Linked DNA regions of Homo sapiens: regions 1, 3, 4, 5, 6 and 7 are each linked to region 2. Evidence: promoter capture Hi-C in 16 types of primary human blood cells and fetal thymus (Javierre and others, 2016). All regions are on one chromosome and are shown on one strand. The core of a region is centred on a gene start or on the middle of the fragment in contact, and the rest is flanking DNA. Distances in the headings are between cores, read along the strand shown. Region 1 has its middle 880 kb from the start of DAOA. Region 2 holds the start of ARGLU1 (arginine and glutamate rich 1). Region 3 overlaps LOC107984608 (a long non-coding RNA gene). Region 4 overlaps LOC107984606 (a long non-coding RNA gene). Region 5 overlaps ABHD13 (abhydrolase domain containing 13). Region 6 overlaps LOC107984606 (a long non-coding RNA gene). Region 7 overlaps LOC107984606 (a long non-coding RNA gene).

What was found. The method cuts DNA at HindIII sites, captures the fragments that hold promoters and counts their contacts. A CHiCAGO score of 5 or more calls a contact.
Region 1: a contact is called between a fragment that was not itself captured here and the fragment with the promoter of ARGLU1 in region 2, in 1 of 17 cell types (fetal thymus). The highest score is 7.2, in fetal thymus.
Region 3: a contact is called between a fragment that was not itself captured here and the fragment with the promoter of ARGLU1 in region 2, in 1 of 17 cell types (fetal thymus). The highest score is 6.0, in fetal thymus.
Region 4: a contact is called between a fragment that was not itself captured here and the fragment with the promoter of ARGLU1 in region 2, in 4 of 17 cell types (fetal thymus, naive CD8 T cells, monocytes and 1 more). The highest score is 10.8, in fetal thymus.
Region 5: a fragment that was not itself captured here is called in contact with the fragment with the promoter of ARGLU1 in region 2 in 2 of 17 cell types (total CD4 T cells and naive CD8 T cells); the score reaches 6.7 in total CD4 T cells.
Region 6: a fragment that was not itself captured here is called in contact with the fragment with the promoter of ARGLU1 in region 2 in 1 of 17 cell types (fetal thymus); the score reaches 7.8 in fetal thymus.
Region 7: a contact is called between a fragment that was not itself captured here and the fragment with the promoter of ARGLU1 in region 2, in 1 of 17 cell types (fetal thymus). The highest score is 8.0, in fetal thymus.

What each region holds. Positions count from the first base shown.
Region 1 is chr13:104,579,600-104,583,525 of GRCh38, reverse strand. No RefSeq gene overlaps it. Among named protein-coding and RNA genes, the nearest start is that of DAOA, 880 kb to the left of the region's middle. The HindIII fragment of the contact is 3,554 bases long and covers 396-3,926 here.
Region 2 is chr13:106,566,832-106,570,736 of GRCh38, reverse strand. ARGLU1 (arginine and glutamate rich 1) reads left to right here and starts at 2,600. Exons shown (of 4, transcript NM_018011.4): 1 at 2,600-3,164. The coding sequence starts at 2,818. RefSeq lists enhancers at 2,459-2,528, 2,539-2,658, 2,334-3,244 and a silencer at 3,139-3,438. The HindIII fragment of the contact is 1,462 bases long and covers 1,886-3,347 here.
Region 3 is chr13:104,865,691-104,869,811 of GRCh38, reverse strand. The region is part of intron 1 of LOC107984608 (a long non-coding RNA gene); the gene reads right to left. It overlaps LOC105370342 (a long non-coding RNA gene), which reads right to left. Exons shown (of 3, transcript XR_931691.3): 2 at 2,074-2,219; 3 at 648-751. Among named protein-coding and RNA genes, the nearest start is that of DAOA, 600 kb to the left of the region's middle. The HindIII fragment of the contact is 3,163 bases long and covers 845-4,007 here.
Region 4 is chr13:104,777,639-104,781,178 of GRCh38, reverse strand. The region is part of intron 3 of LOC107984606 (a long non-coding RNA gene); the gene reads left to right. Among named protein-coding and RNA genes, the nearest start is that of DAOA, 690 kb to the left of the region's middle. The HindIII fragment of the contact is 1,576 bases long and covers 1,309-2,884 here.
Region 5 is chr13:108,218,721-108,222,524 of GRCh38, reverse strand. All of the region lies in intron 1 of ABHD13 (abhydrolase domain containing 13), which reads right to left. Among named protein-coding and RNA genes, the nearest start is that of ABHD13, 2.2 kb to the right of the region's middle. RefSeq lists a silencer at 3,611-3,804. The HindIII fragment of the contact is 2,711 bases long and covers 1-2,700 here.
Region 6 is chr13:104,816,941-104,820,680 of GRCh38, reverse strand. The region is part of intron 3 of LOC107984606 (a long non-coding RNA gene); the gene reads left to right. Among named protein-coding and RNA genes, the nearest start is that of DAOA, 650 kb to the left of the region's middle. The HindIII fragment of the contact is 418 bases long and covers 2,043-2,460 here.
Region 7 is chr13:104,759,695-104,763,220 of GRCh38, reverse strand. LOC107984606 (a long non-coding RNA gene) reads left to right here. Exons shown (of 5, transcript XR_007063859.1): 4 at 2,466-2,513. Among named protein-coding and RNA genes, the nearest start is that of DAOA, 700 kb to the left of the region's middle. The HindIII fragment of the contact is 906 bases long and covers 841-1,746 here.

The sequences.
Region 1 (3,926 bases), core at 923-3,422, 2.0 Mb after region 2:
ACTCCATTCCTTCTTTCTTATGGAGTGCTACCAGCACTGCTTCTGCTGATCCTTTATGCTTGATAATTTGTCCTCCCTCAAGGTCATTTCATTTTGTTCCCTCTTTCTGCTGTATTTATCTGAATGCAGAAATTCACATTGTTTATTCTTTTCATGCAAGTCTTAGCTCAAGTTAGAAAAAAGTTCCATGATCATCTGGTCTGGAGAAAGTGACCATGTTCTGACACTATCATGTCACTCTTGCTTACTCTTTATGACACTATGACTCTGAAATATTATCATTCATGTATTTATATACTTATTTATATATTCATGATTATATATATATATGTCTTCCCCCACTTATATGTCAAACATATATTATTCATATATTATATGTCTTGCTCCATTAAGCTTTACTAACACAGTTTTCTTTTGTGTTTTACTTAACACTGTTCCCCCAGGGTCAAAATATGGTAAGTATTTAAATATTTGTTAAATTGCATGCACTTTTCAGTTCTGGTGGTGCCCTCTTTTGTAAAATGTGATATAATGCCTCTACATTACAAAATGATTTGTAAAGATTAGCTTTGTTTTGGAAGTGCCTACCTCAAAGAGATGCTACAGAAAATGTAACTAGTATTTCTTATTTTCCTACATCCTGCTCACATCTTTCAAATGTATTTTCACTCCTAATCTGTCAGTGTCTTTACATTGAAGTGCAATAGATCTTTTGCAGTTCTAATAAAGTTTTGCTAACTTTAATTTTAATATAAATGATTTAAAAGAATTTGCAAAAGGAAAGAACTACAGGGAAATGTCTGTTTAATCATAAGTATATTTTAAAAAAAAATTAACCTAGTATTCTTAACAATTTTCCCAAAAAGCACATTATATTAATAATGGTACAATGACTGCCAATTTTCAAAGTGGTTTTCCATATATTTCCATAAAAGCCACAAAAGCACAGTGAGCAAGTAAAGCCAAATGATATCATCTCCATCTGACGTCTAGAGCATAGTGCTTCATAATATAATGGGGCTTTCTCACTATTCACAATAGCAAAGACATGGAATCAACTTAGTTGCCTGTCAGTGGTGGATTAAAGAAAATGTGGTACATATACACCATGGAGTACTATGCAGCCATAAAAAAGAATGAAATCATGACCTTTGCAGCAACATAGATGCAGCTGGAGGCCATTATCCAAAGCAAATTAATGTAAGAACAGAAAAACAGATACCACATGTTCTCACTTGTAAGTGGGAGCTAAACATTGGGCACTCATGTTCATAAAGATGGCAGTAATGGACATTATTATTGCCATTACTACTAGATTTGGAAGGGAAGGAGGGGGGCAAGGTTTGAAAAACTTCTTATTTGGTACTACGCTTACTACCCAGGGGATAGGATCATTCGTACACCAAGCCTCAGCATCACACCATGTATCTATGTAACAAACCTGCATATGCACCCCCAGAATCTAAAATAAAAGTTGAAATTATAAAAACCAGAGGCTTTCTGTGGGTCACCAAAACATTTCCTTGGGAATCTGTGACTGAAACCCATGTTTGCTGAATTCTCCTTTAGTACTCTTTTAGGCGGCATTAAGATCCCTGTTTTCCTTTCCTAGATTTTTTTCCTCATGCTCAGTTAATCTCTCCTAATTCAGTATTTCATTGGAATAGTTGGCCATCTTTCTCCCTATTGCCACTATTTGATTATGGGCTCATTGTCTTCTTCTAGCAGCTTTTGTCTTAAATAAATAAGACATTGCATGTGTCCCAAAGAGCCGCCCCATCTCCAAAAATCTCATGGCCTTCCAATTTCAACTTTCATCACTGACTAGCTGATGAACTCTCTTTTGCTTAACACAAACTGTCAGTTGAGTGAATCCAACCTACCCTTGGGCCAGCTGTTCATTTCTGGTCTACACTGCGTAGAGAAGTGGGAACATAGAGCACTTTGTTCTCACTACTCCTGGATATGTGAGCAGGGCTCCCTGGGGGTAGCAAGTACTGACTCTACAACCAGGTGTTGCTTTTGTGTTTAATACGTGTCAGACACACTCTTAGGCACTGGAGATCTAGCAGCAACTATAACCAATACCTCGTTATGTTTATGAAAATTTCACTCCAGAATAGGAAGACAAAAAAACAAATGAACAGATTGTCAGAGAGTCTAGAGCCTGGAGGTGATGCTAGTGAAAGTAGTTAACAAACTGGATTAAGTATCTTCAAATATTAAACTCAAGTCTGGGAGGTCAGATATGCATGAGGGTTGGAATCCTAAAGTCTCCATGCAAGTGTTAAATGCAAACAGATAAGCACCGTGGAAATTATGAGGGAGGGAGAGCTAAACCCAGCTTCAGTGGTCAAGGCAAAGTTGGATTTCAAAAAAGGAAAGTTCCAGATAAGTTAATCATAGGTGAATGGAAATTCTTTTCAAATTGTTTCTCAAATCAGAATTCTCTTTGCTTAGGCAATAGCCATGTCTTACACATAGGCTTCCAATGACCTTTGTAGAGGGTTGTGGATTTGAGCAGCAAGTTCGTAGCCAAAAATATGCAAGGTATATTTGATGGGCAAAATGGGTTCATTGCCAGAATAAAAGGAGATGAGACTGGTGGGGTAAAGAGCAGCAGTGTTTAGAAAACACTTTCACATACATCAGCCAATTCACTTTCACAATAATCCCTTGACAAAGAAGATATCTGATCTGAAAGGTCGGAGGATGAGATTATGTACTTAATCTGTTTTCCATTGGGAAAACAATGGACGGATTCTGAAGAAATAGCACCTTTATGTTAATGGGAAGTCACACATCTGTGTCTCAACCTTTATTCTTGAACCCAATCTCTTATCTCCAGTGTCGCTTGTCCTTGGCTCCAGAGTCTTCAGCATATTTTTATTTATGTATTTATTTTTTTTAAACCACACGGCAAAGCACCCTCCTTGCACTCCTCAGCTGAACTTTCCCTCTAGTTTGGATTCCCACATCTTCTCATCTCTGAGCTGTCTCCTGAAGTTTCTTCAACGAACTTTTCCTCTTCATTTTGTAATCTGGCTTTTTCTTTTTGTCCTATTTCAGTTCCCTCCTCACACACAGAAAAGTTCTCTGATCATAAGAATCCTTGAAGAGCATTAATAAGCATTTAAGATTGATATAACACAATTCAGGTTATGTCTCATGTTTTCTTTATTTTCCATTTCTTTGGCAGATTTTATTTATTGTTATTGCCAGATTTAGCTTTAGAGAGCCCTGTGAGTAAATGTCATAATTAATTCTACTTCACACTTATTTTTACAAGTGAGCAGAAAGTAGATACTCTAAAATAAACATTCGCTTAATGTATGAAAAAAACACAAGACAAAAATTGATTTATGAAATTTTTACATCAAGAAATCTTTAAAAAGTCAGCTTCATTAGAGCATGTAAAATATGCTTATGAAATAGAGCAATGCAATGATCCCATAAGGCAAGACATACTCACACTAAAGTTTCCGTCATAGCTACTGTGACGTCCTCAGGAAACCAAACTGAAGGGAAGATCATTGGACCTTGAATGGAACATCACAATCACTCAGAAAAATGGGAGTAATAATTATGCCAATTTCCTAGGGTTTGGGGAGGAATAAATCAAATACTTTAGGTATAGTGCTTGGTGCAGTGCTGGCACACAGCAAGAAGTCAGAAATCCAGCAAGATGTTTAATTAGAATAAAAACCAGCAAAGAGTTAAATGTTATAGGTATGTACTTGGATAGTATTTTATACCAAGACAATATTATACTATATTTTATTATAATTATATATATATATAATATATAACTATAGTTATATACTATCTATATATATACTACATATATTTTACTATAGTAAAAATATTTTACAATATTAACAAAATTTGATGTTTTATATCTTCCTTTACCCATTGTTCTCTTTTAT
Region 2 (3,905 bases), core at 1,351-3,850:
TTAGGAGGTGGGGCTGATAGGAGACAAAGGTATTAGGAGGTGGGGCTGCTGGAACATTATGGTATGAGGAGGTGGGGCTGCTGGGAGATGACGGTATGAGGAGGTGGGGCTGCTGGGAGATGACGGTATGAGGAGGTGGGGCTGCTGGGACATGATGGTATGAGGAAGTGGAGCTGCTGGGACAGGATGGTATTAGGAGGCGGGGCTGCCGGGAGACGATGGTATTAGGAGGCGGGGCTGCCGGGAGACGATGGTATTAGGAGGCGGGGCAGCTGGGAGACGATGGTATTAGGAGGTGAGGCTGCTGGCTCTGCCCTCATGAATTGGATTAGTTCCTATCTTAGTCCATTCAGCCTACTATAAGACTACCTCAGACTGGGTCATTTATAAACAGCAGAAATTTATCGCTCAGAGTTCTGGAAGCTGGGAGTCCAAGATTAAGGCACTGGCAGATTCAGTGTCTGGTGAGGCCTCACTCTCTGCTTCATAGATGACACCTTTTTCTATGTCTTCACATGGTAAAGAACGGGTGAACAAGCTTCCTTGGGCCCCTTTTATAAGGGCATTGCTATGGCTTAAATGTATGTGTCTCTCTAGAATTCCTATGTTGGAGCCTAAAATCCACTATAATAACATTAAGAGCTGAAGCCGTTTTGGAAGTGATTAAGAAATGAGGCTCCACCCTCTTGAATGGGAATAGTATCCTTACAAAAGAGGTTGACAGGAGTGTCCTAGTTCCCCCCCCTTTTTTTTTGCCCTTTTGCCTCCCATCCCTTCCCTCATGTGAGGACACAGTGTTCGTCCCCTTCTGTGGACCCAGCAAAACAAGGCACTATCTTGGAAGCAGATAGCAAGCTCTTATCAGACACTGACTCTGCTGGTACCTTTATCTTGGACTTCTTAGCCTTCAGAACTCTGAGAAATAATGTCTATTATTTATAAATCACTCAGTCTAAAGTATTCTGTTATAGCAGTGGAAATGGGCTGAGATAGGCACTAATTCCAGTTATGAGGTTAGAGCCCTCATGACCTAATCAATATCCCAAAGCCCCACCTTTTAATACTATTGCACTGGTGATTAGGTTTCAACATATGAATCTGAGGGAACACAAACTTTCAGACCCTAGAAGTGCCACTAAAAGAGAGCTCAGAGAGCTAGCTTTCCCCTTCTATCATGTGAGGGCACTGTGAGTAGGTGCCTTCTGTGAGTCATCTGTGAATCTCTGGGTCCTCACCAGCGACCAGATTGGCTAGCACCTGGATCCTGGATTTCCAACTTTCAGAACTGTGAGAAATAAATTTGTTGTTCATAAGCTGCCTAGTTTATGATATTTTGTTACAGCAGTCAACACAGACTAATACACTACTCTTCTTTGTTTCCAAGTTTTCTTGATAATTAATTATGTGATCTTCCATATAAAACTTAAAATTAATTAGTTCTAAAACACATATCCCCAAGAGAATTTGGGACTCTCATGAGAATTGCACTAATTTTGTAATTTGACTTGGGAAGAATTGACAGTATTTTTGATACTGACTACTCACCTAAGAATACAGCATGTTTTACATTTACTAGGGCCTTATTACTGCCTTTTCAGTAAAGGTTTATAATAAAGATTGTGTAACTTGTTAAAGTTTATCCCTAAGTATTTTATGGTTTCTGTTGCCATTGTGGAGGAAATATTATTTCATTTTTAATATGTTTTTGCTTATTCAAATAATTCTAATTTTTCTTCTACTTACTTAAGCTTTATTATTGCACTCAATTTTAAAATTGAGGCACCTAGATTTTCAAGGGTTCCTGTCATCTGCAAATATTAACATTGCCTTTTCCTTTTAGGTCTTAACAATGACACAGTTTGTTGTGCCACATAGGGACGAAGCTTTTCGTGGCTAGGGTTGAGGAGGGCTTGCTGGTTATGTGCAAGGGCTTTGCACAATATGATCTAGGTTCACGTCCCTGCTCTGTCACCTACTGGTTGTGTGACCCTTATTTAACCTCTGTGGACCTCAGGGTCCTCATCTCTGAAACGTGGATAATAGTAGTACTTAATTCAGAATTGTAAGAATTAAGCACTTGTTAATACATTAAAGCATTTAGAAGGCACATTAAGCCCTATAGTAAGCATTAGGTTACATTCATCAAAACCTGCTGCCTACTTACCTCCTGCAAGTCTCATAAGCACTTCAGAAAGTGTGGTGTCTCCATTCTACGAATGAGGAAACTAAGTCCAAGGCAGCAAGTGATGAGTGCAGGGTCACTTGGAGATACATTTTAGGGCTGCCCCACAAGACCAGCTCCTAGAAAATAATGCAATCAATCAACTTCTGCGAGGCCGGACTTAAATCCCACTAAAACGTGCTTAATTCATTCAACAGGCGTTGGCATCTTACCAGGGAGGAAAAAAAAAAAAAGAGTACGCCAAGGCGAAAAGGAGAGTCTCCATCTATTGCGTCTCAGGCTTCCGCCAAGACTGGCGGAAAAAAACGAGTCCGCTCCGAAGCGCTCGCCTGCCTTCGGCAAAAATCGTCAGGAGGCGGGGCCCACGCTTCGGCACGTTTCGCGCAGGGCATTGTGGGAAGGGCGGCCGGTGCAGCCGCAGCTGCCATCTTAGGGGCGCCTGGCGCTACGGGTTTCTCGTTGGAGGCGGCCTTCGTGGCAGCTGTAGACGCCGGGAAAAGGCATAAAGTCCGTTGGCCGACACCTTTCTTTCCTCCGGCCTCGGTAGAACCGCCAGCCCGCGTCCGAAGGCGGAGGCGAGGGGAACTGGCCGCGTGAGGGGCCTGAGGCGAGCGGTTAGAGCGTCTCCCGGAAGGATGGGCCGGTCTCGGAGCCGGAGCTCGTCCCGCTCCAAGCACACCAAGAGCAGCAAGCACAACAAGAAGCGCAGCCGGTCCCGGTCGCGATCCCGGGACAAGGAGCGCGTGCGGAAGCGTTCCAAATCTCGGGAAAGTAAACGGAACCGGCGGCGGGAGTCGCGGTCCCGTTCGCGCTCCACCAACACGGCCGTGTCCCGGCGCGAGCGGGACCGGGAGCGCGCCTCGTCCCCGCCCGACCGCATCGACATCTTCGGGCGCACGGTGAGCAAGCGCAGCAGCCTGGACGAGAAGCAGAAGCGAGAGGAGGAGGAGAAGAAAGCGGAGTTCGAGCGGCAGCGAAAAATGTGAGTGCCCGCGCGGGGAGGGACCGGGGCGTGCGGAGAGCAGGGCGCGGGGCGAGGGCGTGGGGCCGGGGCGGGACGGTGCGGGCCGGGAGAATGGCGGGGACGGTCCGGGGCTGGGGACCGGGCGCGGGAACGGGTCGGAGAGGCGGCGGCGGGGCGGGCAGGCTTGGCGTTTGGAAAGCTTGGGGTGGGACAGACCCAGAAGTTGTTCGGGATGGAAAATTCGAGGGCTTGAGCAGAAAGGGTTTAAGAGAAGGCGATTTTGGCGCGAGAGAGGAGTGGTGTCCCGGAAGTAGGGGTGGAGTTCGGAGTGAGGTCGGAGAGCTGCGTTGGCTTGTGAGGCCGGGAGCGAGCCGGCCTGCAGATGTGGAGGGTGGTGAGCGTTTGCTGGTCGGCTTGAGGAGGAGAGAGAAGGGAATTAACCTTTGAGATGCGAATCACAGCTGGCCAGAAGCATTCTATTGAAGCTCAAATTTGGGACAGGACTTAACTAATCTCGGGAATCATACACTTTAGGTGGTCCGCCAGAAAAATGCATTTTCACTTTAGTGTATTCCTGTTGTTAAGGTGTTGGGATTGCTTTTTTCCCCTTGAGCCTACACCCTCACCCCTTCCTTGAGATGTTAAAAAAAAAAAGCATAGACCTTAAGTGTACAGTGCGATGAGTTTTTTGACCTTTGAATTCACCTGTGTAATCACCATCCCAAAGCCTACCGCTTTTTTAACTTGCTTTCTATTCCT
Region 3 (4,121 bases), core at 1,177-3,676, 1.7 Mb after region 2:
TGTATGATTTCATTTGTTCAAAACATCCAGAATATGCATAACCACAGATAGAGGATGTGAATTGTGGTTGTCTGGGTATGTATGGAGGGGAAATTTACAGCTATCTGATCATAGATACAGAGTTTCCTTTGTGGGTGATGAAAATGTTGTAGAAATAGCTAGTGGTTATGGTTGCACAACAGTAAACATGCTAAAAACCATGAAGATTTTCATTCTAAAATGGTGTGTATTGTTATGAGAAGCATATATCAATTTAAAAAGTTATTTTTTAAAAAAAATGTTGTAAAGTCAAAAGTCTGACAGTATGTTGAAATTAAAGGGTACATTGGGAAGTTAACTGAACTGGAAGTAAAATGATTGAAAAGTTATTTCAGAATAAACCAATCGTCAGTTTCTACTGACAGTAAATTGGATGAAGCTGGGAATATCTGTTCGTTCTGTATAATCAAGGAGTAGCCACCTTGGAGAATATCTAAATTATTAAAATGAGAAAAACACCAGAAACAATGTGCAATTTTAGTTCTAACTCCCTGAAATCACATCTATGTTGCTTGACTTATGGTAGCCGAGAGTTAAACGGGATTCCAGAATGGCTTACCTTTTAAGTCACTTGCTCTAAAGTAGAAGAAATATTAAAATCACCTGCTCTAATATCTGTGCTGAGCTGATAGGTGTATCAAGTCTTCCAGGTGTATGGCTGAGAGAGAAAATTGGCTGAAAATATGGGCAGCCCCCCAAATGGTAGATGTTTCTAGAAAGAGAAAGTGGAATGAATCATTCGCATTGGACAGGGCCTCTCAATTCAGCGAAGCTGGGTGTTCTGCTGTAGGATAGTCCCCAAGCTTCTCAACACCCACTCACTCAGAGAGAAAAGGACACAAATCATCTGAAATCTGGCATATTATAGAACATTCAGTAACAGTTCCATATGTGATTGCTGAATTTTTAGTTTTTTAAAATTATTTCCATTTGATTCATTTTCATTTGTTTTCTGAAAAATTAGAGAGATACCCATAAAAAAGCCTGTCCCACAGGGGACTTGAGGCTCAGATATAATCACTGCTGCACTCACTGAGTATCAGTCACTCCCGTTGATATTTTAAAGACTTTAATCTTTAAATTAAATATTTGAATTATCTATTTTGTTTCATTTTATGAATGAGAAAACTGAACCTCAGAAAGGTTAGGTAAATCCCTTAGGATTATAAATGTGAAAGCTATGGTTGAAACCCAGTATTATCAGACTCTAAGTACAGTTTGCTGTTTGCTCCTTAAATACACCTTCATAAAAAGAAAGATGTCCTTCACACTATGTGCATCCCCTCTCTGGAAATTAAATTCAGAAATGACTAGATTATGTGCCAAATACTGTATGGTAATGGTTAAAAACAGAGTGACCATTGAATAAGCATGACTAGAAAAATTAGAGCTGATAATTTCTCAAATCTACAGAGAAAATTTCAGATCATACTTAGAAAATAAGACATAAGTAAAAGATATTTTAGCACAAGTATATTTGCTAAAGCAAATTTTACTTTAACAGAGAGAAACTTATTCTGCATAATTCATAGAATTCATAAGGAATTCTGCTTGTTTTTAGCTATCTCTTTGGCTTTTGTCATGAAAGCATAATTAACTATAAAAAGAAAATTTCCGTATAGCATGTTCTATGAGAACCTGAAAAGAGAGCATTAGAAGATTGTCACACCAGAGATCTATTTTAAGACCATTTATGTAAGACATCCCAGATAATTATACTGTAGAAGGTATCTTTTCCTATCTTTAGGCAGCATTTTAAGTAAGAAATGCAGAACAAAACCATCAAAGTCAGTAGAAATAAAATGCGATCACTTTTCACAATGATTCTTGGAGAAACCACATAATGGCTAAAGCAGCCTAAAATTACTTGGGATAGGTTAAATAAAGTAAACATGGCTTATTAGATTTCCATAGAGTTAATAGTCTACATAGTCTAATGTTTTATAGACAAAACCTCTGTCATTCTGTTTTATAGAGTAACTCCTACCTCATCACTTCCAATCACATTTACTGCATTTACTAAACATCACTAACCTGTCAGCTGTTAATCGTCTAGTCAATGAGCTAGTTGAGTGGGTTATCAGGTGATTCCAATTCAGAAAGATAGCCACTCTCCATGAGAACATGACATGAGAACATGCTTCTGTCTTGTCTCTAATTCTGTTTTGCCTCCTTGAACACTGAGTTAAAATGGAAAGACATTGGAAATGATATCTTGTAGAAAAAAAAACTCACATGTACAGATAAGAGTATCTCTTTCTAATAAGAACAACTATTCCAAAACTGCATAATTTTGAATGTTACGTATGATGAAAACTCTTGTTATGGTGATGCTGCTATGATTCATTTAGAAGAATTTGTGTAACAGGGACCACGTAAATTTTAATGCTCAGAGAATCTAGGCATGCATGATTTAAGATTAATTGGACAAGACAAGGCTATATAGAAGATAAGGCTATAATGTCTTTATTCTCAAGAACATCTCTGATGGACTAACCAAAAAAGAATAAGGCTTCCATAGATCAGATTTAACCAACAAAAATATAGAATGTTTAGTTAATCATGTTTTGGAGTGATGTCCTAAATCTTACATATGGCATATTTATAGTAAAACATGTGATATGGTTTGGCTGTGTCCCCACCCAAATCGCACCTTGAATTGTAGTTCTGATACTCCCCATATGTCATGGGAGGGATCTGGTGGGAAGTAATTGAATCATGGGGGTAGTCACCACCATGCTGTTCTCATGATAGTGAGTGAGTTCTCACAAGATCTGATGGTCTTGGTCTTATAAGGGGCTTTTCCCACTTTGCTTGGTGCTTCTCTTTCCTGCTGCTGCAACAGGAAAAGTTCCTTTGTCTCCCTCACAGTGTGTGTGTGGCTTGCTTCTTCAGTGCCCCGCTGCTCAAACCTCCAGGGGAGCATACAGATGGGCAGACTGTGGGGCTCTGACCCCACAGCAGTGTCTACAGGTGAATGTTGATAGCTGAGGCCCCAGTGGGTGTGTGCTACAGGGTGCTCTTTTAGTTCAGCCGTCCGTAGGCAGCTTGTGTTTACCAGCTTAATTAGACCCTCTACTTTGTTGCAAGGACAGACGGCTTTCTGTATCCCGGGGTTCTTGCCTTGGTGTACTGGAAGAATCAGAACACGGGTGGGCTTGGGGGATGAGTGCAAGGTTTTATTAAGTGGAAGTAGCTCTCAGAAGATGGGAAACCCAGAAGGGAGATGGTTTTCCCATGGAGTCAGGCAGCCAAGCGCCTGACACTTCTCTGACACCTGCCCCCCAACAACTGCATAATTCCACCAGTAAATGGCCTGCCTATGTGCTGGCGTCTGTCAGTGGGCTCTTCTGCCAGCGTGCTCCCCTGGACATTCTCCTGACGTCCAGCCACTTGTGTCTTCTTCCACTGATCCACTCCTCCCCACGTCCAGCCGCTTGTGTGGCTGCCTGCTAGGTTCTTGAGGTTTTTATAGGCACAGGATGGGAGCATGGTGGGCCAGGGTAGTCTTGGGAAATGCAACATTTGGGCATGAAGGCACGAGTGACTGTCCTCACCTAGGTCCGTGGGCATAGGCTGGGGAGGAGCCCTCACCAGGGACCAAGTCCTTCCCTTCCCAGCACTTCCCTGCCCGCCTCCTCTATCACGCCGCGTGAAGAAGAACGTGTTTGCTTTCCCTTCCACCATGATTGTAAGTTTCCTGATGCCTCCCCAGCCCTGCACAACTATGAGTCAATTAAACCTGTTTCCTTGATAAATTATCCAGTCTCAGGTAGTTCTTTATAGTAGTGTGAGAACAAACTAATACAACATGATTTGTTGTTTATATGAAATTTAGATTTCTCTAGGTATCCTGCATCTTCCATGTCAGCCTTAGGTTCAAAGTGAGTTAGCAGAATCGTGGACATAAACTAATACACCCCCAGGTTCCAGGTCCATAAGCTCACTGCACGCAGTTGCTATAAGCTTTCTGCATTGTTCTTTACATAAATACTTGTGATTATTACTAGCCAGATAACCATATAAAAGCCCAATTCTTTATTTAAAATATTTTTCAGATATTTTAGAAATAAATTATATTC
Region 4 (3,540 bases), core at 847-3,346, 1.8 Mb after region 2:
TCCCCCACACAGCCATTTCCACCACCCAGCCATTCCAGCCAGTCAGCCATTTCAGCCACCCACTCAGCCATTCCAGCCACCAACCCAGCCATTCCAGCAACCCAGCCATTCCAGCCACCCAGCCATTCCACCCACCCAGCCATTTCAGCCACCCAGCCATTTCAGCCACCCACTCAGCCATTCCAGCCACCCAGCCATTCCACCCACCCAGCCATTCCAGCCACCCACTATCTCGTCTGGGTTACCGCAACATATTCCTACCCTGTTTCACATTGACCACTGCTCCCCTGATGACTGTTTGCCACTGAGAAATATAAATCTGATTATGTATAATTTCATCTTCAAGTATTTTGATTCCATTTTAATATTTCTGTGCTTAAATGCCTTATATGATTACATTTGATGCACATCTCCTTTTTTTGCCAACCTCTTATAATCTATATCCTATCAATTCTGCATTCCCTTCCATTCTTCTTATTTGAAGAAGATATTATCTTGAAGTTTAAAGGAGGTTGATTTTAAACAATTTAAAGATTTATCTAGGTAATATGTGTTGTCGCCCGAGGTGGTATAGATTATTTTTTAAAAATGTGGAGATTCATAAGAACCTAAGCATTAGAGATAGGGATAGTGGCTCACAATAATGGCAAGAGGTATAGTATATACTAATTTACATATTAGTAATGCTTTCTTGATTGCAAAAAACAGAAAAATAACTCTTACTAATATTTTGGCGGGAGTGGCACAGCAGTAGCTCATGGAATGAAAATAAGAACTCAGTGAAGCAGAAAGCTACTGAAGAAACCAAAAAAACACTAGAAAATCAGCAGTAGGAATGTGTGGATTTTGCCTTGGAAATTCTGCCGTTTCTGAGACTCCTCATAAGAGACACCAGGCTTTCTCTCTCTCCATTCCACATCTCTTAAATCTGGGGATGAGAACTTGATTGTCATAGCTGGGAGCAAGTGTGTGCCCCTGGGTGAAACAGCGAAGTCCATTTGACAGTGCCTTAGGGCAGAGACATGGACACTGGCACCTTCATACTCATTTGTAACTGAGCCATCTTCAGAGGACTCACTTGCATCGAGAAATACCCTGATTGGGTCTATCACATGAGTCAATATTTGTCGAAAATTTGTGTTGAGAACAAGAACTGCGCAGCATTGGTCTTGTGCACTTTGGGATTGAACGAATAAATGACGTTTTTAGAGTGTGCTTTAGCAAGTGATGTTGGCAGGGGTATCATATTACAAGAGTTTAATTAAGTATTCTCATTACCAGCTGTTGGAGAAGAAAAGTGTAAAAGCTTTCTTTTGCTACACAACAGGATTTTTTCTATGTGTATTCAAGATGATTCATAATATAGCCTGAATGGACAAGAGGAACCACAGTTTTCTATATTGCATTAGAGTGAACATGTAATTTCTTTTATATTGTAAAGGGATATTTGAACGGGGTCTGTAGATTGTTTCTGCCTTCCTAGACATGGATTTTGGCCTTTGGCATGCCCACCTGCTAGGGCCACAGTCATCAGCTTGACACAGGAAATGTGGGACTGCTGAGTGATACTATTATAGCTTCTTGTTTGCAAGCCCAGCCTGCCAGTCCCCCGCCCCCCCACCTATTTCTCCAAAACCCCTTAACTGGAAGCTACTTGGGAGCTTTTTGTTATTGAAAGGGCTCTGAGAATATAAAACAGCTGGTCATTTCTAATGTCTTAAAGATGCACACATGCTCACTTTTTATTTAATGTCCTCCTAGTAATTTGAGCAGATGCTAACTGTGCTGCAACATGAGTCAACTGAAAAGTATGTATCTCAATAAGATTTAAAAAAATAGGAAATTTACATAACTTTTTTATAAACCAAACTAAAAATACATATACAAGTGATTGTAGAAACCAGGGCGATTTCACCTAAAAGCAAATGCTTAGTGAGAATTTAATTGCATTTACCTGATGTCCTTCATAGTAAAACCTGTTTTTTTTTTTTTCAACTGAAATAGGGGAAAGTCGTTTTAACTATGTAAATGGAGTGTCCTCAAATCTAATCAATTTGCAGTGTGACCAAATAATCTGTTGCATTGCCAATTCACCAAGGTGTTTCAGCCATTTGGAGATCAGGCAAATTATTTCAAATATAATCACTTAAAGTGTTTTAGAAGGGATGTAATTAAATGGCTTCAATATAAGAAAAAATATGTACTGAAACAGTACATTGAAACAAAAGGAGCATATATTTACTTGATTTTTTAAATGAGCTAAATATCAATCACACTACATTTTTACAGGCTTACAAAGGTGCCTAAAATAATCATTATCTGACTTGCAACTTTATGTGCTCATTTTTTAACATGTCTTCTAACATAAGCATGTCACCTAGACTTTTAACATTGCCTCACTCATTTTAACATTGCCTTTTCTCTCATTAAAACACTGACATTATTAAAAATCTCTACTACATAGGCTTCTGGGATCCCTGGTATGAATACCCATTGCTTTCAGAGAAAGAATCAAAAATAAAGTCATGATTATAAACTTTTTTTTTCCCAGTTGCTCTGTATCTAGGTCCTCGTAAATATAACAGTTGAATAATGTAGGATTACAAAGAAATCATCATATAGCATCTGAATTAAAGAATGTAAAATTTAGATTTTGATGTGGCTATGAGTAGCATAAAAATAATAATAATTAAAAAAATACCCACTATTTTGAACAAGACAGAAGTTTCCTTTATCAAATGAACCTAGTTCTGAAGTTGCCATACCAGAGGTATGGATGCAGTGTGGAGTGGCAGAGACCTCGGCTTCTCCAACCATGTCAGTTTTTTAATGCATAATTTCCACTCCCAAGATCATCTCATGATTGGACATGGCACATGAAGCTTTGAGTAATCTGACTACACAGTAGCAAATAGTGAGAAGTGTACATTCTCTTGGTTTATCCCTATTGTTCAGACTACTTATACCACTCATAGCTACCAGAACATTTGGAAAATGTACTCAAGTAGTTGCCTGGGGATGTGTTCTTATACAGAAAGGTACCAAGAGATATTGAGTAGATCCGCCTAATTCTCCTCATCTCCGTTTTACTCAACATGATACACATTGAGCTTCGTGATGCTCCATTCACTGTACAGAAAAAAGCAAATTTAAAATATAAAAGTCCTGGCCAGGTGTGGTGGCTCACACCTGTAATCACAGTACTTTGGGAAGCCGAAATGGGCAGATCACTTGAGGTCAGGAGTTCGAGACTAGCCTGGCCAACATGGTGAAACCCCATCTCTACCAAACAATACAAAAGTTAGCTGTGCATGGTGGCAGGCACCTGTAAGTGCCAGTTACTTGGGAGGCTGAGGTGGGAGAATCACTTGAACCTGGGAGGTGGAACTTGCAGTGAGCCCAGATCACGCCACTGCACTCTAGCCTTGGTGACAGAGTGAGACCCTGTATCAAAAAAATAAAATAAAAAAAGTAAAATAAAATATAAAAGTCTCAGTGGGACAGAGAAAGGAATGATAGGGTGGAGCATTGGAGCTATGG
Region 5 (3,804 bases), core at 96-2,595, 1.7 Mb before region 2:
GTTCCATACTATTTAACCATATAACTGTATTGCCTTATGCCCCAGAGACTTGCCTTCTTCAAATTAAGAAAGATATATTACATTTTTTTAAATCCTTTCTGCATTATAACATATATAAATATATTTAAGGTTTTTACCCAGTAATATTTTCTCCAAAAACTAAAAATAAATAAAAACTTATATATATCAAGAACTGAAACTCAAAAGTATAGGAGTAAATACATTGTAATTATTGCCGTAAGGTTAGTAGGAGAATAAATTAGACAAATCTATTGTATCATAGATAACATTTTACAATAAAAATTGTATTTTAATGAAGGTCAGAACTGCCCTACAAATTAAATTCTAGTTATTCTAATTATTTTTAATTAAAAAGTGTACATTGGGCCAGGCATGGTGGCTCATGCGTGTAATCCTAGCGCTTTAGGAAGCCAAGACAGGTGGATTGCCTGAGCTCAGGAGTTTGAGACTAGTCCGGGCAACATGGTAAAACACCGTCTCTACTAAAAATTACAAAAAATTAGCCGGGCATGGTGGCGCGTGCCTGTAATCCCAGCTACTAGGGAGACTGAGGCATGAGAATCACTTGAACCCAGGAGTCGAGGTTGCAGGGAGCTGAGATCGTGCCACTGCACTCCAACCTGGGTGACACAGTGAGACTATGTCTCAAAAAAAAAAAAAAGTGTACATTGTTTTGCATATTGTATATCGAGTTACGGATTCTGCCACCAGCAAATGGTCTTTTAAAAATACAAAAAAGTGCATTACCCATAGTGAATTACAATGAATTTCCGAAAAACAATTTGGCAAAAGGCTAAACAATTTCAAATACAATTAAAAAGTCCTAAGTCATAAAGGCACTATTATTTCTTTAAAGATCTTTAAGTCCATCCTAGATTGATAATTTTGGGAACAGCTTGTTTAAAAATAAAAACTGTTCATACATTTAAAAAAAATGTGCAGGTTCAAGTGAAGACTGTAAAAAGTGGAAAGGGAGTTCGTGTGTCAATGCCGACATCCACATCCCAGCAGAGAATGAGGACCCCACACCCCATGGGCTCATTAATTACTCTGGGTGAATCACAGCTTCCAATCACATGTGAAGTAATGTGGAACTCAGATTCAGTATTCTTATATCAATCTCTCTCCTCTTCTGTTAAGCATTGGGAAGTTAAGAAACCATGCCAGCTGCACAGCTGAAATGGAAACACAAATAGCTGCTATCAAGGTGTTGGAGACACCACAGAATGAATTATCTATTTCCCTAATGGTTACCCACATGCCATCAATAATGAAAAAGTGTGTATTAATAGTCCTATGGGACAAATGAACAGTAACTGCCTATGGAGATGCTGGATAATAACTGGATGGTTCAGACAGCATCTTTAACTAGGATTTAAATCTGTATGAGCAGATAGCTCAAAAATTATACCAGGCAGCTACTTAGTAGCTTTTTCATGCTTGAAAATCTTGGCAAATAGAGTCAACTCTGGCAGAAGTAAAATGAGAGATTATTGTTACTATGGAAGCCAACCACAATTTGTTCTGAGATTATAAATATCTGAAATGTTTAAAACAAATCCACTAGCCTAAAACTGTAGTGATGTTAGACTGATAATGAAATTCACAAAGTTTCCAATTTATAAATGGGCAATGTTCTAAAACTTTACCTATAAACTAGATGGATGAAACTTAGAATATTTGTTTTGTATAAAACCAGTGTTATATAACATTGAGTATGTGAAAGTAAGTACAACTAGAAGCCTTACTAGAAGTATCTAGATTCTCAGGCTAGCTCATAAATGCATGTAGTCCCTGTACTGGAAATACTACATCTTTGCAAGGGATTTCAGCAGAATATACTGTTGTAGGAGTTCACACCATGTGAAACAGAAACATAAAATATAATAATGTATTACAAAATCTGTCATTTGAGGAAAAATATCTTACTTAGAAGAACTAGAGCATCTTTTAAGTCCACACGAAAAAAGGCTATTTAAAGGTCTTAAGACTTTCCTGGGGCAACTAAACAAGGATTAGAAAGATTTCAGAATCTGGGTAATACATTAAACAGAGAAACAGAAATAGATTCCCCTGAGATAAGTTATGAGAAGAGATCATGGGAAAATGTTAGATCCAACAGTTTCCTGCACCTATCACTAAGTTATATTGTTAGCCCAGGGCAATTTGGTTAGTAAACCCTCTTATCCACATGCCAAGAGGTCTTTGATGTGCCCAAGAAGAGGGCAGTGTGCCAAGGGCTACCTGTAGGTACCTGGCTTGCTTTAATCATTCCAAGTTAACTGTCAGTGGGAGGCAGTGTGGTGCAATGGAAAGGAGACAGTGTTTTGAGTCATGGTCTGTTAAGAGATAGGTAGCTTTTGCCAACTCACTTAGCCTCTCTAAATATATATTTCCTCGTATGTAAAAGGAGGATGAAAGATTAAATTGAACTACTGTTGAGATAAAATGTAATAGTGTGTTAAGTGCAGCTACTTCTATGAGACAAAATTTAAATTACTTAATTATGTACTATAGCAGAGTATGTGAAAGTAAGGACAACTAGAAGCCCTATTAGTCCTAGATCAAATAATGGATATGATTCCCTAGAGGTACCGTATCTGAACACAGGAAGTAATCAGAGCAATGCACTCTTTCTCTGTTAAAACCAAACTCAGGTAGTAGATCCTCTAGAAAGCTTTCCTTGGACCCCTATTCCCTCCTGCCACCCATTCCACATTCTGTAGTTTGTGCAAACTTACGTGGCAGAAGTTACTATTACAGCGTAATTAACCTGCTTACACAGGCTGTGAGTTCCTCGATGACAGAGACCTCGTCCTATTCAACTCTACATTTTCTGTACGCAGCAGTGCCTGATGCATAGTGGGCCTCTATTAACGATTATTTAATTGAGCAGCTGATGTCTTAGGTAGGATATCATGACATTAACACTAAATCGGCAATCAAGAAATCTTACACAGTAAAATAAAATTTGATATTTTAGTCAAAGACGAGTGATTTCCCTAAGCATGCATACAAATAAGTATTGATCCACGAACCCCCTCCCGTCAAAAGAGATCAGTGAAAAATCCAATATCAACACACAAAGCCAATATACTCATCTCTTTCTATCCAGTTACTATCACATAGTAAACATAAATAAGAGTTGTTAAATGGGGACGGACTTTTTTTTGGTTTCGATACCTTGGGTAGTAATACTAGTAATTCATTTTACTTAAATGTTGACTAAAATCTACAGCAAAATTGACTTCGATTGTATGGGGTGCTTTTTTGATGTTTCCTGAATAACCCCAGAACTTCCTGTCATGATATTCACAGGTCTAAACCTGTTACTGTCGTGATTAGATCGGGGCTCTCCCTCTCTCCAACCTAGTAGCTGGAATTATTCTATTTTACTTTTCATGTCTGTGTGGGAGGGTGGGGGAGCGGAGGGTTGGATTTTAGGGATCTTAGGTTTGTACACATTACTGGAAATACAATTGACATAGAACACTAAGATACGTTTTAGGTTCCAATTACAAAACGACACCCGGCGAGCCTCTGGCAATGCGCGCACCTTAGTTTCCAAAACAGGTATTTGGCTTCAGTTTGCTTCCCCTGGTGAGTGGTGAGCGGAGTCGGGGCGGCCGGCAGGGCTGCACCCCGGGCTGGTCCTCCACAACCCCCGGCGCTCGGCCCCCGCACGACCCCCAGGGGAAGCCGCACTAGCCCCGGGGCTCCCCCCACAGCCTCCCGGGAGGGTTTCGCGCCCGCCTGGAGGAGCCGGCGGCTCCCCGCGACCCT
Region 6 (3,740 bases), core at 1,002-3,501, 1.7 Mb after region 2:
TGTATGTATGTATGCAATTTTGACGATGACCTTGAGCAGTAGGACATAAATAACTCCCACAAACTTAGTGTTCCAATAATGGAAACTAGGCATAAATGGGTTTAATAGTTTTCCATTCATATTCTTTGTTTATTATTATTATACTTTAAGTTCTAGGGTACATGTGCACAACGTGCAGGTTTGTTACATAGGTATACATGTGCCATGTTGGTTTGCTGCACCCATCAACTCGACATTTATATTAGGTATTTCTCCTAATGCTATCCCTCCCCCAGCCCCCCACCCCCCGACAGGCCCCAGTGTGTCATGTTCCCCGCCCTGTGTCCAAGTGTTCTCATTGTTCAATTCCCACCTATGAGTGAGAACATGCAGTGTTTCATTTTCTGTCCTTGTGATAGTTTGCTGAGAATGATGGTTTCCAGTTTCATCCATGTCCCTGCAAAGGACATGAACTCATCATTTTTTATGGCTACGTAGTATTCCATGGTGTATATGTGCCACATTGTCTTAATCCAGCCTATCATTGATGGACATTTGGGTTGGTTCCAAGTCTTTGCTATTGTGAATAGAGCCGCAATAAACATACGTGTGCATGTGTCTTTATAGCAGCATGATTTATAGTCCTTTGGCTATATACCCAGTAATGGGATGGCTGGCTCAAATGGTATTTCTAGTTCTAGATCCCTGAGGAATTGCCACACTGACTTCCACAATGGTTGAACTAGTTTACAGTCCCACCAACAGTGTAAAAGTGTTCCTATTTCTCCACATCCTCTCCAGCACCTGTTGTTTCCTGACTTTTTAATGATTGCCATTCTAACTGGTGTGAGATGGTATCTCATTGTGGTTTTGGTTTGCATTTCTCTGATGGCCAGTGATGGTGAGCATTTTTTCATGTGTTTTTTGGCTGCATAAATGTCTTCTTTTGAGAAGTGTCTGTTCATGTCCTTTGCCCACTTTTTGATGGAGTTGTTTGTTTTTTTCTTGTAAATTTGTTTAAGTTCTTTGTAGATTCTGGATATTAGCCCCTTGTCAGATGGGTAGATTGCAAAAATTTTCTCCCATTCTGTAGGTTGCCTGTTCACTCTGATGAAACCAAACCTTACTGGAAGCAATAGCAAGTCTCAAGAAGCCCACTGTCAGGCTGATTTAATTGCCATCATCTCTCTGTTCCTAGGATGCTTCACTCTCATGTCTATTATCATCTAGTTAGTTATATAATTATCTTTCTTGTTCTATCAATTGAGTGGAAAAGGGACATTTTTCACCACTGATTTCTAAGATCAATCACTCGGCTTGGGGCACAGTGGTGACAACTAAATTATTCTGAATAAATAATTGAATAAATCCAAGAATGCATGCATGCATGAGTGTGCTGACACCATACTTGTTCTCATAAATGACAGAAAAATAGGAAAGAAAACGTGATATGAATTGGAAAAGCTCGCAAAGAATGTAACGTCCTCTGATAATTTCATGGGGCAGTAAAATAAATTTTAAAAAGTTCAGAATGTAGAGATGATTTTTCATTATCTTCTCCTGAGAAGTAAGATAAGTAAAATGTCCTTCATTCCTCATTCCTAACCTAAATTAGGAGGTTAAATTTTTGTATCTTCTGCGATTCTGAGAATCCCTGGGCCCCAGCGTGCATATGCTACAGCTTAGCAATAGGACGTGGAGCTGTTTTCTTGGGAGAGAAGGAAGATGGGCTACAGGCATCCTGGAGAGGCTGGTACGCTCATCTTACTCCTCTGCCCTATGGCCGTTTTCGTCGATTCCCAGCCAGGTTGTTGCAAAGGACTTTGTATCCAGACCCATACTGTATGAGAAAGGAGGGCACATTGCTCACCTAGAATGCATTTATTATTATAATTATGATTTTTCTAAATTTATAGAGACACACCATCTTAATATTTATTAAAATGGGAAGTCTCAGACAAGGATACAAAATAATAACCAACCTAATGTATCTTAATAAATGTTGTAACTGTTTTTCAGAAATATAATTATTAAATGCATCTAACTCATCTGGATAAAAAGCTTTTAGAGGTATAGAACTTACCTTCCTGGTTCTAACTTACTTCTTCTGTTTAACTGTTTTTGCTAAATATGTCTCTACTTACAGCCTGCCAAATAGAAACTGTCCTTGGTCTTCTTATCTTCATTACATGATAAACTAACCCTAAGTCATCTTTCTGCAACATGTTTTTTTGTAATCTTTACAGTAACTTTTGGCATGGTAAATTAGACCGTGTTTTCATTGTTATAAGAAAAACCGAGTTAATTTTACAGACACAAATATGGAAAACTTTATAGATAAACAGTTCAGAGAATGAGCTATTTCTGTTTGGGCTACTGAAAAATGACACTTAAGGAAAATACCATTCAGATAAAGAATAAATGCTCATTTCAAAATTTGTCTTAGATTTGAGGCATGCTATTCCTGTGTACTGAGAAGCTTCTGTTAGTTAAAACAGTGAAACTTGTTTTCCATTTCCAATAGCTAGTTATTTCTTATGGTCTAAAGTTGAATTTTTTTCAGGTTATAATTTTTATTTATGAAGTTGTCAGAGGTGTTAATAAGGAGCCATTAATAAAATTCCTGTCTGAAATTGAAGACTTAGCAGACTAATGGTTGAGTAGCAGCAAACACATTCAACTGGACTAAGTTAAAAAATATGCTAAAGTTCCTTCCCTCAATTAGGGATACAGAACACCCAAGGCTTAAAGTGGGATTACAAAATGTATACTTCTATGCCAAGACCAACTCTAATGCAGGATCCAGATTTTTGCTAAAGTATGTCTTGTTGTGGAAAAGGAACATGCACAGGCTTCACTACAACTTACTCAAAGGTTAATGTTTCTTTTTGCTGTTGTTATATTGGTAGTATAAATTTGCTTGATTTCCCCCATATGTGTGTGTGTGTGTATATATATATATATATATATATATATATATATATATGGGGAAATTAAAACACATATATGTATAGATGTGTCTCAATTTCAACCAGAAGCTGTATGAATGTGTGTTTGTATTTTTCTGGGCTGTAAAGGAGTAAGAGTATATATGTTTATGAGTCTCATGAATTATAGTAGTTTTAAATAAATTGTTTACATTATGGAAAATGAGTATTTGGGCAACATCCAGCTGTGAGCAGTTTCTACAATCACAGCTTAGTGACCACACTACGTGGCTGATAGAAGGGACATGTTGGCATCGCCATAGCCATTGTGGTCCAATGCATCAGCAAACTTCTGCACAGGTGTCCACCCTTCCCCTGCTGTGCATGCTGCGCTGATTGCCTAGGCAGTAGTCAGAACCCGAGTCTTGACTCTGGTTTCCATGGCTCTTCATACTGGATGCACTCTCCCCAGCAATTAGCCTGTGTTTGGTTCTCTTTCCACACTTTTGACTTCTATCAAATCAGATTATTCCTGACCAACTACTACTTTGCCAATGCCAAGAAATAGATAAGGTACTAACTCTAATAGGTTTTACAGCTGTTAATTCTATTGGACTACATGTATATGACTCGGGCATTCAACCTTCTGGAACGTACATCAAAATCTACAGATAAATAATTTTAGGGGATTTTTAAAAACAAGTATAACGCATTCTTGACTGTGCTAGGGAACCAAATCAATTGAGGAATGAGTGAAAAGGAGAGGGAGGGTGACGAGGAAATCAGATGTAAATGGAAAAAATGAGAAGGCGACTAGAACAGGTGTCAGAGAAA
Region 7 (3,526 bases), core at 44-2,543, 1.8 Mb after region 2:
TCAGGAATCAGTGGTCAATAGTACAACCAGAGTAGTCACAATCCTAGCCCACTCAGGTTAAGAGCTGGAAATGTAAAGAATACTTGTCACTCAGCCTTTGGGGATTTGTTCTCCTGAACTCCACTGAAGGCCTTGCGGTAAGAAGAAAAGCAGAAGTTGTAGTCCGAAATAGAACAGTCTACCACTCTCACAGGTAGTAGCATTGGCACACACAGCAGCCATGTTCCTGCGACAGGTGGAATGTTAACAGATACCCCAGAGCATGAGTACAATGGCTGGAATCTTAGTAGTCCAGTTACCAGATATCTGGGATATCTCTATCCCAAGAAGGCATAGATGGATCTTTATTTATACTGCTCCCTGGGAAACGGGGCTGAAACTTGCTGACTTGCCTGACTTTCAGCAGACATGACCTAGGGTATTAAGAGGCATGTCTAAGCTTACCTGATAAAATCTGATGTGGTGTATTTTAGAGATACAAAAGAATGGCCGAAAGTTCACAGAAATGGCTTGCCTTTAGCTTACCATGTAATTTGCCAACTAATACCTTGACACGCCCCACAGAGGTCACAAGGCGTGTCCTTAAATAAGCAAGCTAGAAAGGCCGTGCTTCCCTACACGAAATGTACTGATTGTCTTAAAAGGAGTAAGGCAAGGAGAACAATGGGGTAGCTGTCATGAGAATATGCCATTCTTTGACAGAAGTATGAGCAAATTCACTCAGACATCTGAGCAGGCTCATTGTTACGTATTTTCAATCAGGACTTAAAAAGCTATTTACTGTCTATAGGATCTTGGCAGTCAGGAGTAAAGAATGTAGGCAGATAATTTAATAAAGCTTGTAGAACTCTAGCTACCATTGCTTCCTACCAGAAATCATGCTTCTCTGCCCATGACATTTAGATTTGGGCAAAATGTAGTCTCATTGTGTGGCATTTCCACCGTCCTTATTACCCTGTGCAGCAGGAAGGATACAACAAAGCTATGGGTTTTTAAAGACTAGGCTTCTTAGAAGTACTGCACAGGCAATCAGCATTTACAACCAAGGAAACCTTCAAAAGATAGAGTCAGGGAAAAGGAATTGTAAGGCTAGAATCAGCCTCTACTTTTTTTTTTTTTTTTTTTTTTTTTTTTTTTTTTTTTTTTTTTGCAAGATGGAGTCTCACTCTGTTGCCCAGGCTGGGGTGCAGTGGCACGATCTCAGCTCACTGCAACCTCCACCTCCTGGGTTCAAGCAACTCTCCTACCTCAGCCTCCTGAGTAGCTGGGACTGCAGGAGCCTGGCACCACGCCTGGCTAATTTTTGTATTTTTAGTAGAGACGGAGTTTTGCCCTGTTGGCCAGGCTGATCTTCAACTCCTGACCTCAGGTGATCTGCCAGCCTTGGCCACCCAAAGTGCTGGGATTATAGGCATGAGCTACCGTGCCCAGCTTTATTAAGTAGGTGCTGCTGGAATGGTGTGGTGAAGGAACTCTATGTTGGATTTGTTTTACGTATTCTGAAACAGCTTTTCCACACAGGAAGTAACTACAATATTTCTAACTTGCCCACAGAAACTTAGATAAATTGGTTGAATGTAACAAAGTGCTTCCCCGTGAAGGTGTGAACATGTCCATTTGAGCTCCAGATTTGTGATCCATGAGACAAGAGGTGGTGGCAGTGGAGAGTGTTCTAGATCCAGAGTATCAGGCAATAGTGGATTCAATGAGATATTAATGGAAGTGTAGGAGCCATTTAGCAAAGCTTTATTTGCCACCAAATCCAGGGAAAAAAGAACTGGCATGATTAGCAACTCCTCTCTGCAATCAACCACAGGAGGAAGAATAAAAAGAGATCTGATCTCCCCAATTGAGAGATTAAAGGACACAGCCCTGGGGACAATGAATTAGGATTGCATATGTAGGTATACACAGGTATTATCTGTGTATTGAGGTAAGTTAACATCTGGATACATATAACTCTAGCTGCCCAATATGTTGCTCAGAAGTACCCAAATGAAAGTAGGGCAAGAAGAGATCAGGCTGGCTCAGGGAAGCCACCTTCCTTCTGCTTCTAACCTTACTCTTCCACTAATTAACTTCTTGTAGCACCGGAAACAAAACGGCAGATGCTATTTTGTTTTGTCTTTCCAGAATTATCTTAGGAAACCAAGGAGAGGAGAGTGACATCATCCCCTCACTCAAGAGCATCGGTAGTGTTGACTAGGAAATTTGATTGACTGGTTCAAAGACTGACATTCAGTGCACCTTACTCTTCAAGGCGTTAACAGTCCAGGCAGAAAGAGTAGTCAGAGCTGCCTCTCCTGTCACTCTAAAGGCTATGAGTCCTGAATAGTTATTGCTTAATATTTTAAGCACACAAACACCATGGGCAGTAGACATTTGAAGCTCATCTTATGAGGTAATTTGGAGAAAACTTGAACTGTTTTCTTTTCTCTCTTCTCTTCACAAACTTATGGCTCCAGCACTAGAACCTTCCAAGTGGAGGAATGGAGAATCTAGTGGCACATGTGGTGAGTAAAGGGATCTATCATTCAATTGTAATAGAGTTTAGTAAAAATTTTTATTCAGTCAGTATATATCCTATGGTAGAAACATGGTAATATAGAAAGCCAGCCCTACTTTAGAGCAGTAATTGCAACCATATTCTAGTTTTCCGGGAGTGGCACTCTCAGATAATTCGAGACACCAAAAGAGGGAGTCTATTTACACCAGTAAAAATATTGACATTGCTTATTGGCCACCTGTGACTAATCAGTCTTAATGTTGTTTATGTGAAATAATATTGTTCTCTAATATGGGAGGCATACCTCTCATTCCAGAACCCTATGTTAAATTGCACAAAAGAAACACTGTACCTGGATGAACAGGTCCAGGAGTAACACTGCAGCTAAGTATCAAAATCAAGGCATTCACACATCCCCTTTTGCAATGAAGGGAACAGCTCACATAGTGGTAAAATTCCATAAGGATAGCTAATACACTGTGAGGGTCTGAACAGCTCACCATTTCACCAGGAATTGATGGAAAGTGTAAAATATATTTCCAAGCCCAGAGACCCTTGCTGGCTCCTATCCCTCTGAAAGAACTACTCCACTCCGTCTCACTTGCCTATGCCTCTAGAAACCTGGAACCAAGTGAATGGGCACCAATACTTCTAATAACTTGGTCATACCTAATAGACTGAAAGAATTTTCCTCTCATGGCAGGTACCACAAATTGGTCTCTAGATATATAAGGAAAATTGGAATTGGAACCACTAAAACCTATATATATATACACACATATATATATGTAACTATATATATACATATATGTATATATATATACATATATATACAGCTTGAGTAAAAATTATACTCATTAAGCTATATATATATATTTACCTGAGGGATGGGTTACAAGCTGATCCTAAGATAATTTAACAAGGGGCTATTTAAAATTTATTTTGGGATCAGGGAAGAAATTACTAAAAAACAAGAATACTTTAAATACACAATTTCCATTGAAATGCTGGGCCAATAAG